Linked DNA regions of Homo sapiens: regions 1, 2 and 3 are each linked to region 4. The links are contacts of gene promoters, found by promoter capture Hi-C in human tissues and cell types (Jung and others, 2019). All regions are on one chromosome and are shown on one strand. The core of a region is centred on a gene start or on the middle of the fragment in contact, and the rest is flanking DNA. Distances in the headings are between cores, read along the strand shown. Region 1 has its middle 20 kb from the start of LINC02696. Region 2 holds the start of LINC02687 (long intergenic non-protein coding RNA 2687). Region 3 has its middle 1.6 kb from the start of LINC02696. Region 4 holds the start of SLC35C1 (solute carrier family 35 member C1).

The links. Contacts are between HindIII fragments. The study calls those that stand out against the background at their distance.
Region 1: a fragment that was not itself captured here is called in contact with the fragment with the promoter of SLC35C1 in region 4 in 2 of the 25 tissues and cell types used here (bladder and heart right ventricle).
Region 2: a contact is called between a fragment that was not itself captured here and the fragment with the promoter of SLC35C1 in region 4, in 1 of the 25 tissues and cell types used here (thymus).
Region 3: a contact is called between a fragment that was not itself captured here and the fragment with the promoter of SLC35C1 in region 4, in 2 of the 25 tissues and cell types used here (lymphoblastoid cells and psoas muscle).

The regions. Positions count from the first base shown.
Region 1 is chr11:45,333,737-45,336,436 of GRCh38, reverse strand. No RefSeq gene overlaps it. Among named protein-coding and RNA genes, the nearest start is that of LINC02696, 20 kb to the left of the region's middle. The HindIII fragment of the contact is 4,338 bases long and covers 1-2,700 here.
Region 2 is chr11:45,369,816-45,372,515 of GRCh38, reverse strand. It overlaps LINC02687 (long intergenic non-protein coding RNA 2687), which reads right to left and starts at 1,119. Exons shown (of 5, transcript NR_122071.1): 1 at 1-1,119. The HindIII fragment of the contact is 5,980 bases long and covers 1-2,700 here.
Region 3 is chr11:45,352,460-45,355,159 of GRCh38, reverse strand. No RefSeq gene overlaps it. Among named protein-coding and RNA genes, the nearest start is that of LINC02696, 1.6 kb to the left of the region's middle. The HindIII fragment of the contact is 6,284 bases long and covers 1-2,700 here.
Region 4 is chr11:45,803,693-45,806,398 of GRCh38, reverse strand. It overlaps SLC35C1 (solute carrier family 35 member C1), which reads right to left and starts at 1,250. Exons shown (of 2, transcript NM_018389.5): 1 at 63-1,250. The coding sequence starts at 597. RefSeq lists silencers at 996-1,225, 1,956-2,125 and an enhancer at 2,296-2,455. The HindIII fragment of the contact is 31,315 bases long and covers 1-2,706 here.

The DNA.
Region 1 (2,700 bases), core at 1-2,500, 470 kb after region 4:
GAAAGCTGGTGGGTGAACCTGGAGAGGCCTAGCAATGGGACGCAGGGGGTGCAGACGCTTAGGTACCTGATGAGGGAAGACAGAGTGGCAGTGGCTGTGACAGCAGTGAATGCAGATGATATCAGACATCAATACACAGGCCTGGCAAATTACATCAACCTCGGATGCTCCGTAGGAGGGAACTAGATGAGGGGAAGGGGAGTGCCCCTCACACCACCAATGCCTGGAGAGGACAGAGGGGAAGGAGCCTTAATTGACAGAGCTTGAGAGCACCTGACAGTGACAGTTTACCTTGAGTTGGCAGGATTGAGTTTTGCACTCCCAGGGGAGAGTAATGTGCGCGTTCACTTCCTTTTGAAAGAAATTGATGAACTCTAACACCTATGCTTGCTAAATAAGAGCAGATGTACCATCTCTTTGTAGAGCATTCAAATAATACAGAATGGTAGCTAATATATAGTGAGGATTTGCCACGTGCCAGGAACTGATCTAATGCTTTATGTGTGGTTAAGGCCAAGGTCCTTGGTTGCAGGCAACAGAGTCCACATTAGCAAGTTCATGCTGACAGAGATCTATTAAAATGTATTTATTAAATACTTAATGGACTTTTTTGGGGGGACCACAGAATCAAGCTTAAATGGTACTCAGACCAGGACAGACCTGGACAACAGAGTCAGCCAAGCCCTTAAAATGCCCCCACTCTCTGCAGAGCTGTTCAGAGAGCCCTCTGCTGCTTCCACCTGTTAACTGACACTCATGATGTTTGGGACTGAAGTCAAAACTCCTCCCAATTTCCCAGAACACCCAGCACCCCTGCCTCTGTGCCTTCCAGCAGGTCCAGGCTCCCAGCCTTCTTGCACCACTCACTTCCACATGCAAGTCCTGAATGAGTGTAACTGGTTGGTGGAAAGCAGGCCATGTGCCTGCACTCTAGCTGCAAAGGAGTCTCAAATTTGGTTTTCAGTTTTGCAGTTTCTAGAGTGCAGGAAGGTAGTCTAGAAGGAATAGGAATGTGTGCCCAACTGAGTCACACAGGCACTAATTTCTCTTTTACAGATGCAGAAACTAAGGTACAGAGGGTTGCATCTTTTCATTCTCTTTGAATCTTGATTGTTAGGAATGAGCGACCCCACTCTGGTTTAGGGGAACTCGAATTCATTTTCCTATTTTTCCTTAGCACAAAAAAAGACCTCAGGTACAGAATGTTCAAAAAGCACCCTCCATCAGGAAATCCACCCCAAAATTAAGAAGAGGTCATAATTCAAGGACGGTCCTCCTTTCCAGAAACACTGTGGCCTGCCATCTCTTACCGCATTTTCCTTCTAAGCTGCCATCTGCTTCTCGGATAGAGGATGTGTATTAGGATTTTGCTTCTCTCTTGGGGCCTCTGATCCTGTGTTAAATTTTCTGCGTGGGCCCTTTTGGCTTTCCTTCCATTTTTGTGCTGTTTTCCTTTGTGTCTGTAACTGCAACTCCCTCACTTTCTAACAACAAGGAGGCTATGATTTCGGATTTAAGTCCTTACTAAATTTCTTTTCAAGTCATCTACAAAATTATTTCCATTTGGCACTTGAAGCTCTGCTCCCTCTTCTATTAACTCAAGTGAACAGTAGCTGCATTGCTGGATGCATTTCCACATTTCCTCCAATGCCTTTCAGACTGGTACATAACTGAAAAACAGTCCACGAGGTTGCCTCTTCAGCTTTCAGTGGCCAAACAGGATTTCAGTCTAACCGTCCTGGTGAACGCCTCATCTATTTTGCCCTGCCAGGAGCAGGCCCGGCTGTGCTGAAGCCCTGGAACGTTCTACCACCTCCCGCCTCCTACTCAACCTTCTCACACATGGAGGCAGAGGTGAGGTCAAAATTAAGGACTGGTATGGAGAAACATCATGAACAGCAACATCTCAAATCAAGCAACTTAAGGAAGGGGCCGGGCGCGGTGGTTCATGCCTGTAATTCTAGCACTTTGGGAGGCCGAGGTGGGTGGATCACCTGAGGTCAGGAGTTCAAGAACCAGACTGGCCAACATGGTGAAACCCCGTCTCTACTAAAAATACAAAAATTAGCTGGGCATGGTGGTGGGTGCCTGTAATCCCAGCTACTCGGGAGGCTGAGGCAGGAGAATTGCTTGAACCCGGGGGTGGTGATTGCCGTGAGCCGAGATCGCACCACTGCACTCCAGCCTGGGCAAAAGAGCAAGATTCCATCTCAAAAAAATGAACAAATAAATAAATATAAATAAGGAAGCCCAAATAAAAAAAATTATAAATGAAGAAAATCGCTCAGAAATACATCCTGAGTTCCAGAGAGAGGATTGAAGTGGAGAAAATATGTCAACGAAAAGCTTTCAAATTTAAGTTCTGAAAAGGCTCATGCAACTGGAACCTGGAGATGCTATTAGGCAAGGGGTCTTAATGATTTTGGTCGGCACGTGCCCCCTGCCCCCTTTCTTTCATGCTAACAGAGCCCTGGTTTTTGTCTCTGTTAGAAGGCCAGATCCCTTCATCTCAGGAAGGGTAGGTCCTTTGCAGGCATTGGTCCAGGGTCCACCATGTGACCTCATTCCGGCCAATGAGATAGGAGAAGCCTCCTGCAGGGCTTCCGGGAAATATTTTCTTTCTGGGCACAGGAATCACGGCAGAAGAAAGTCTTTTCTCTCCCCCTGCTCCTTACTTCCTGTCTTAAATGTAGGCTGTGT
Region 2 (2,700 bases), core at 74-2,573, 430 kb after region 4:
CAATATGGTGAAACCCCGTCTCTATTAAAATACAAAAATTAGCTGGGCGTGGTGGCGCGCGCCTATAATCCCAGCTACTCAGAAGGCTGAGGCAGGAGAATCACTTGAATCAGGGAGGTGGAGGTTGCAGTGAGCTGAGATCACGCCATTGCACTATAGCCTGGGTGACAGTGAAACGCCATCTCAAAAAAAAAAAAAAATTGTGTGATCCTACACTCTCCCTCTCTGGCCTTTAGCTTGGTATTATAAAAATGGGGATACTATTTCCTTGGAGAGTTATATGTAGATTTAATGAGCACAGAGCTTTTAGATCCAGGTTTCATGGAAGCACCAAAGTGTCTGTTAGGAGTGGGGAGGATGCTACATGGTGAGAGACAGGGCCTTAGGTGCCCCATCCCCTTCCATCAGAGGCGCTTCCCTGGTGTTTGTTTACACGGCCAGGTTAGGCTTGCGATTTTGGATGGAGGAAAGGGTTATGCAGCTGAAAGAAAGCAGAAAGACCGCTGCTCTAGTTGTTGAGGAAGTGCTGGGCACCCAGCGGGCACTTAATAAATGTTAGCACTTTCCCTCTCCTCGCCCCCATCATTCTCCCCCCTGGATTCTTTATTAGATGGCTCGGCGAAAACCTGGACCCAGATGAATGGAGAGAAGGCAGCAGGCAGAAGATGGAGTGCTTTTAAAATATCAAGCGAATCACTGCAGGGGTGGAGTGCCTGGCGGGGGCTAGGGGTCACGGAGGCTGTGACCCAAATACGACGGGGCACAGGCTCACCACAGCTCCACACTGAGGGCCCCTGCCTGCAACCAGCACAGAAAAGGCTCCCCAGAAACAGGGGAACCGGCCCCTGCCCCACCAACGCCGTTCGCAACAGGCTCACCCCCTCCTCCTCCTCCTCTCTTGAATGGAAGGACCCAGAGGAAAAGAGAGAGCTCTGAAATGTGCGAAGGGGCACAAGAGGTGGGGAGGCCCAGTGGGCTGACCTGGCTGCTTCTTGCAAATAAGCGGGGCCTGCTGCACTGCGAGGGCACCGAGAAGAAAGAGCTGCCATCAACCCTGCCGGGTTTTTCTCAGATCCTCTGAAAACGAATCTCCTGGGAGCAGCTCGGCAACCGGAGCCATAGCGCCACCTACAGGCTTCCTTCTGCCATGCACTTTGCCTTCAAATACCCCTTTTCAGCAGCAGGTATTACACGCTAGGTATGCCAGGGGCGGGAGCTCACATCAAATCCACTGAACTGCGAGGTGTCGTGTTGCTGATACGCTCAGACAAATGAGCTTGGCGTAGAGAGAACGGTCGTTGCTAACGTGTATCTTGCAGGAAGGGTGTCAGGGCTGCGCTCCAGGCAGGAAGCTGGCAGAGTTGACAGCCAATCTCCCATCTTGATGATGGGGAAACTGAGGCCGAAACTGTCCACAGTTACACAGTGAGTTGAAGGCAGAGCTAGGACAGGAAGTATTCTGTGCCTCTCCACTTGGATGGCTGTTCCCCTGTTAATTCCGCAATAACTGTACTGTGACAGCCACAGGAGCCTGCAGCACACACACTAAAGAGTGGCTCCTTTTCACTCAGAAATGTCAGGAGATGGGGCCAAGTTTAGAGGTTGCAGCTACAGATAAGCCTCCGAATACGGGCTCCATGGGGCCTGGGGATAGGCCCCTGCTCTGAATGTGGATGTGAGAGGATTTAGTTCGCAAAACTGACTTTCCCTCCTACACACCCTCACGCTCACACTCTCCATCTAGCAAACTGTTTGTCCTTTATGGCCCACTCACAGGTTGCTGTCTTCCAAAGCCTTCTCTGATCCCTTCTCCCTGCCAGTGGAGTCTGTCATCTGTGCCACCACAGTACTTATTCGAGACATTGATCATTGAACAGGTCCCTCTGTATTATGATGATTTCTGTGTCTGTTTGTCTAAATGGAGAGTTCTGGTGTCTCCAAAGCTCAGCCCAGAGCCAGACACAAAGCAGGTGGTCACTCCAAAAAGGATGGGTAGATGGAAGGATGGGTGGGTGTGTGGGTGGGTGGGTGAGTGGATGAAAGGGTGGGTGGATGGATGGGTGGGTGGGTGGGTGGATGAAAGAGTGGGTGGATGGATGGGTGGGTGAGTGGGTCGAGAGATGGATGAGTGGGTGGACAGCAAATGAAGCACACCTAGAGGATGGGGAACTACTCTATTCTATATTCTAGAACAGGGATAGCATCTGTTTCTAAGGAGACCTACATCTAAAAGCATCTGCTCCCAAGTCTAAGTCAAAAAGCATAACAGGGTATGCATGCTAAGGGCGGTTGGGCTGGCCCCCTCCTCCTCCTGACTGCCCCTTCCCCCTGGTTTCCCAGATAACCCATTAGAAACCTGCCAGGGGTCTCCAAGGTGTAGTTCCCTGAATGCCTGCAGCAGAATCACCTGAAGAGTTTGTTAAAATGCAGGCTTCTGGGCCCTTCCCTCAGAGATTCTGATTCTGCGAGCCTGAGGAAGGGCCTGGGAATATGTATGTTTAAATCAGCACCAACCAAGTGAGGCTGATGTGAAGGTAAGTTTGATACCACTCATCAACACAGTACAAGGACATGCCAGAAACTGCCTTTGCTGACAGTCCACCCACAAAGGCTTAAAGAAACGACCCTGCCTCACAGACACCAAACGGTAGAAAGTGCCTATGGAGTCTTCAAACATCTAGAAGTCCAGGGAGAGGGAGG
Region 3 (2,700 bases), core at 198-2,697, 450 kb after region 4:
GAGGGACTCCATCTTGAATAGGGGCTGCATAAAAGAAGGTGGAGACCTGCTGGGATGCATTCCCAGGAGGTTAGGCATTCTAAGTCACAGGATGAGACAGGGAGGTCAGCACAAGATACAGGTCACAAAGACCCTGCTGGTAAAACAGGATACTTAAAGAAGCCGGCCAAAATCCACCAAAACCAAGATTGGCAATGAAAGTGAACTCTGGTTGTCCCCACTGCTCATCATATGCTAATTATAATACATTAGCTTGCTGAAAGACTCTCCCACCAGCACCATGAGCATTTACAAATGCCATGGCGATGTTAGGAAGTTACTCTATATGATCTGAAGGCGAGGGTGGAACCCTCAGTTCTGGGAATTGCCACTCCTTTCCCCAGAATACTCTTGACTAATCTACCCCTTGTTTAGTGTATAATCAATAAATAACGTATACACAGTTGAACAGCCCATGCCGCTGTTCTGCCTATGGTGTAGCCAATCGTTTATTCCTTTACTTTTTTAATAAACTTGCTTTCACTTTACTCTTTGAACTTGCCCCAAATTCTTCGTTGCTTAAAGTCTAAGAATCCTCTCTTGGGGTCTGGATGGGGACCCCTTTTCATTAACATAACCACTTTACAATAGTTGAGGGTTTCAAGCACCAGGCTGGTGAGTACAGAGTACATGGCCCTGCTTTTCTTGACTTTGGTTACTTGGACTCAGGCCACAGCTGAAGAATACAGGAGGGAGGGAGGGAGAGAGAGAGATCATTGGGAAGCAGGTGGCGGCAGTGGTGGTGGTGGATTGGGTGTGTGAAATTTGCAGAGTTGGGGTGACTGCCAGGCTTCTGGGCTGATAGCTGGGAGAATGTTGGGCCATCACATACTAAAAGGGAACCACAGGAGAAGAAGCTGATGTGTGGGAAGTTTGGTTTTACATATATTAAGCCTTGAAGGTCTTCTAGGGGAGAAACTCAACAGGCCAATGGATGTGCCTGGTTTGATTTTTTAGATGACAGGCCTGAGCTAGAAATCTGTGCCTTAGATTCTTGTATATGAATGGTGCTAGAGCAGGAGCTTAGAAGAAATTGCCTGGTGGAGAGAATACCCTTTGGGAAAGAGGCGCAGGACAGAGTGTCAAGAGCTCTTCTACTAAAGAAAGGGAAGATGAGCAGGCAGCCCTAGGAGAGGAACCAGGGAAATGCGGCATTGCAGGGAGCAAGGGAAGAGCACTTCAGGAAGAGTAATTAGGTCAGTTTTGCTGATAAATTAGTGAGATGACTGAGCAGACTTTGTTGTTACCTGGAGCAGATTCCTTGGAATGGCTGGAGAAGGTCAGCTTGTGGTGAGTTGAGGAATAAGTGAGGGTGATGGTGAGAAAATGGAGATAAATGAACATAGGCAAATCTTCCAAGAAGTTGTCTGTGAAGAAATGAGAGTGATTCTGAAAGGAAAATGATGATTTTTAATTATTATTTTTTAAGATTGGAGAAACATAAGCTTGTTTTGGGGGGTTTTTGTTTTGTTTTGTTTTCTTGAGATGTAGTCTCACTCTGTTGCCGAGGCTGGAGTGCATTGGTGTAATATTGGCTCACTGCAACCTCTGCCACTGGGGTTCAAATGATTCTCCTACTTTAGCCTCCTGAGTAGCTCTGATTGCAGGCACGCGCCACCACGCTAGGCTAATTTTTGTATTTTTAGTAGAGATGGGGTTTCACCATGTTTGCCAGGCTGGTCTCAAACTCCTGACCTCAGTTGCTCCCACCTTGGCCTCCCAAAGTGCTGGGATTACAGGCACGAGCCACCACACCCAGCCAAAGCTTGTTTAAATATTGATGAGAAGGAGCCAGGGATTTTTTATGTTGATCAGCCCATGGACAAACTGAAGAGTGGCCTTGACTGTTTCCTGGCAAATGATAGTAAAGACCCTTGAGGAAAGAGTGCCTCTTTCTAATTCACACACATGGCCAGAGCAGCCGTGGATGAAAGTTTGATGCTGGAAGGTGAAGTATGTCCTGTCTTGCAGTGTGCATTTTGCCTAGGAAAGGGAGGTGAGATCATTGAAGGAAGGAGATGAAGTGCCTGAGAAGTTTGAGATCAGTGGAGGATGTGTGCGTGGCTGTAGGGGTTGGGGGGATAGCAGAGCAAGCAGATTTTAGCCATGTAGATTCCTAGATAGTGACTCTACAGTAACCTTAAAATGTCTGAAATAGGATAATAGCCTCTTTTTTTTTTTTTTTTTTTGACAGAGTCTTGCTCTGTTGCCCAGGCTGGAGTGCAGTGGCACCATTTCGGCTCACTGCGACCTCTGCCTCCAGGGTTCAAGCGATTCTCATGCCTCACCCTCCAAAGTAGCTGGGATTACAGGCGTGTGCCACCACACCTGGCTAATTTTTGTATTTTTAGTAGAGAGACAGGGTTTCACCATGTTGGCCAGGCTGGTCTCGAACTCCTGACCTCAAGTGATCCACCCACCTTGACCTCCCAAAGTGTTGGGATTACAGGCGTGAGCCACTGCGCCCGGCCCAGCCTCCTTTATAGTAGGAGTCAGGAGACAGCAGATGACCAGAGACTGCAGCCAGTGCCATGTATTGGTTTTGGTACCCATACTCAGCTCTCAGTTTTCCATGTCCTGTTGTTTACCCTACTTGTCTGACTTTAAAATGTCTTTTTGTTATTGGGAATCTGATAAGTTCTATCTTAATATGCATTTTTA
Region 4 (2,706 bases), core at 1-2,500:
TGTTCTTCACTGCTTCAGTCCCCATGACCACTCTATCCCCCGTGGCCCCAGCTGCCACTCACCGATGATGATACCGCAGGTGAGCAGGGCATAGAAGGAGGTGGTCTGCTTGAGCAGCAGGTAGGAGAGCAGCACGTTGAAGACGGTGGTGAGTGAGCGGCCCACATTGTAGAAGGCCACACCGACGTACTTGAGGCAGAGGTTATTGAAGGTGATCATGCCGATGAAGACCACCGACAGGGGCAGGACGCTGCGGGCCACCCTGAGGTCCAGGCGCAAGCTGGGGAAGTCCACGGCACCAGGGCAGCAGGCGGCCAGAGCGCTGAGGCCTTTGCACAGCAGCGTGGTCACCAGGCACTGGTAGAAGGTGACGAAGATGGGGGTGTCCAGCCGCAGGGAGGGGCTGTCCAGCAGGTACTTATTAAGGAACACCATGGAGATGGAGGTGACCCAGTAGAGGGAGACCACCAGCGCGATCTGCAATGCCCGCAGCAGAAAGGGCTTCTCCCCGTTGGCCTCTGCCTCTGCAGAGGGGTCTGAGGCCCCGGTCAGCGCCATGTGCAGGATCCTGGACCGCTTCAGAGGGGCCCTATTCATGGTAGCAGAGGAGCTGGGTCACCCCGCGGCCAGAACTCTGATTCCCTGGAGTCCAGGGCAGTGAGCTCACTTGTGCTCTCCGCAAGGAAGCCGCAGCCCTCCATTGTCACATGTGGGCTGGCCTAAAGGCCTCCCCATTGTCCTCATGGATTGAGAAGTTCTGCTTTGGGGTGAGCCCAGTTGTGCTGCTCCACAACCTACTCCCACCCCGAGGGGGCTCTGAGACAAGACACAGGGCAAGGGAGAGGAATAGGATAAGGCGGTGAGGCCAGGACAGAGAAGACCTGTGAGGGGAGAAGAGGCTGGGGCCTAACAGGGAGGGGTCGCAGAGAGAAGGGAGGGGAGAGGAATGGCAGGGCGGGGCAGGAGTAGGTACGCGGGGCGAAGGTGCAGGAAAAGGACGCGTGGCAGAGTGGGAAGAGGTGCCGAGAGGGCGTCATGGGCGGCTGTGGGAGGGAGGGGCGGGCAGGGGGAGGGAGGCGTACAGGGAGCTGCCGGAGGCCGGGCGCGGCTGGAGGGAGGGCTGCGGAAGGGTCAGAGGGGCTCGGGGCTTGGGGCTGAAGGACGCGGGAGGGGGCTGGGCCGGCGCCCACGTCTCGCTGCCTTCCCGGGCTCTGTCGCCGGCTCAGCCCAGGAGCCTCCGGACATCCGAGGCCGACTCCCCGGGAGGCGGGCCCTGGACTCACTTCCTGACACGCCCCCACGTGGCCTTAAAGGGCCCGCACGCCCCGCCTTGCCCTTAAAGCGACAGCCCCAGAGAGGCGGAGTTCGCCAGTCCCCAGCCCCGCCCCTGCGCTCCGCTGCCCGCTGCTGGCGGGGGACCTCGGCAGCCACAGGTTTTTCTGGGTGCTTGAGCCTCGCCCTGCTTCCTGGAAGGGCTCCATCAACCTCGCCTGCCCACCCTCAGCTCCGTCCGCCCCGGAGCCTCCGTCCCCCGACTTGGCTAGGCTTGGCTCGCAGGTCCACTTCCCGGAACCCCGACCCAGGACCCGGGCGGCGCTACATCAGCCTGGACCCCTCCACCTCCGGAGACTCGCGTTGCAGCCCCGCGTCCCTCTGCCAATCCGAGCTCACTCTTCCATAACAATGTTGTGGTCCCCTCCTTTCCCCCCATTTTCACCGCCCCCAGGCCCTCTCCCAAGCCCGAGACCCCCGGCAGCGCTCCCCGAGGCCGGAGGCCACGCCGCCTCTCTCGGACTTCAGTTTGTCCTCCCTGTGCTCCTGTCGAGGTCCTCTGGGCGGCCCGGATCCGAGATTCCAAAGGCTCAAGACAGCATCTCTTACCCCTTCCAGAAAATACTGTTTCCCCGGCCGGTCCAGCCGCATCAGCTCCCGCGTCCCTGCCTGTGTCCCCGGGCCGCGAAGGCGACCTGGCGCTCACCTCCTCCGGTGCACTGGGCGCCCGCCCCGCGACCCCGTGCTGCATCTGCAGCGCCGCACCCTGGGCCGCGCCCGCGGGATCGACTTCCTGCTTTCCGCCCCGGGCCCGGGCACCTTGCCAGCCTCGCCGGCCTGTTCGCGGCATGGGCCCCGGGGGTGCCGGCGGAGAGGCGGTGATCCGGACGGTCGTGGGAGGAGGCCCTCTCCTCTTTCCAAGGCTACTCCTGTCCCTGGTACCCCCGCCCGCCCGGGACCCGGCTTCAGTTACCGCAGCTGGCACGTCCCGGGACTTGGCTGTATCCCTGGCCCGCCGCGCTACCGGCTTGCACTTCCAGAAGTGCGTGCGGGGACCGCTCGGATTCTTCCAGCTGGCAGTGAGGGGGAGGGTTCCCCGCCCCTTCCAGGGCCGGGGCCTGGGAAGTCTAGCCTGTGGTCTGCCACTCACCAGGCAGCCGGGGAGACCAGGAGGATCGACTTCTCTTGGTTCGCGCTCTAGCACCTGCGTTGGGCAGGCCACTTTCTCCGACGGCCTGAGTTATCTTCATGGTAAAACTAAGGGGCTAGGCTTGACCTGTGGGTCCCAACCTTCTTGCCCAGAACTCTAGGTGGTATGGTCGAACATAGATGTTTGTAATATTTCAAGCACCATTTAATTAGTGCCATTTAATTAACGGGTAAGATGATGTCATGGCTGGGATTTGTTTTAAAATACTAAGAATACTTACCAAA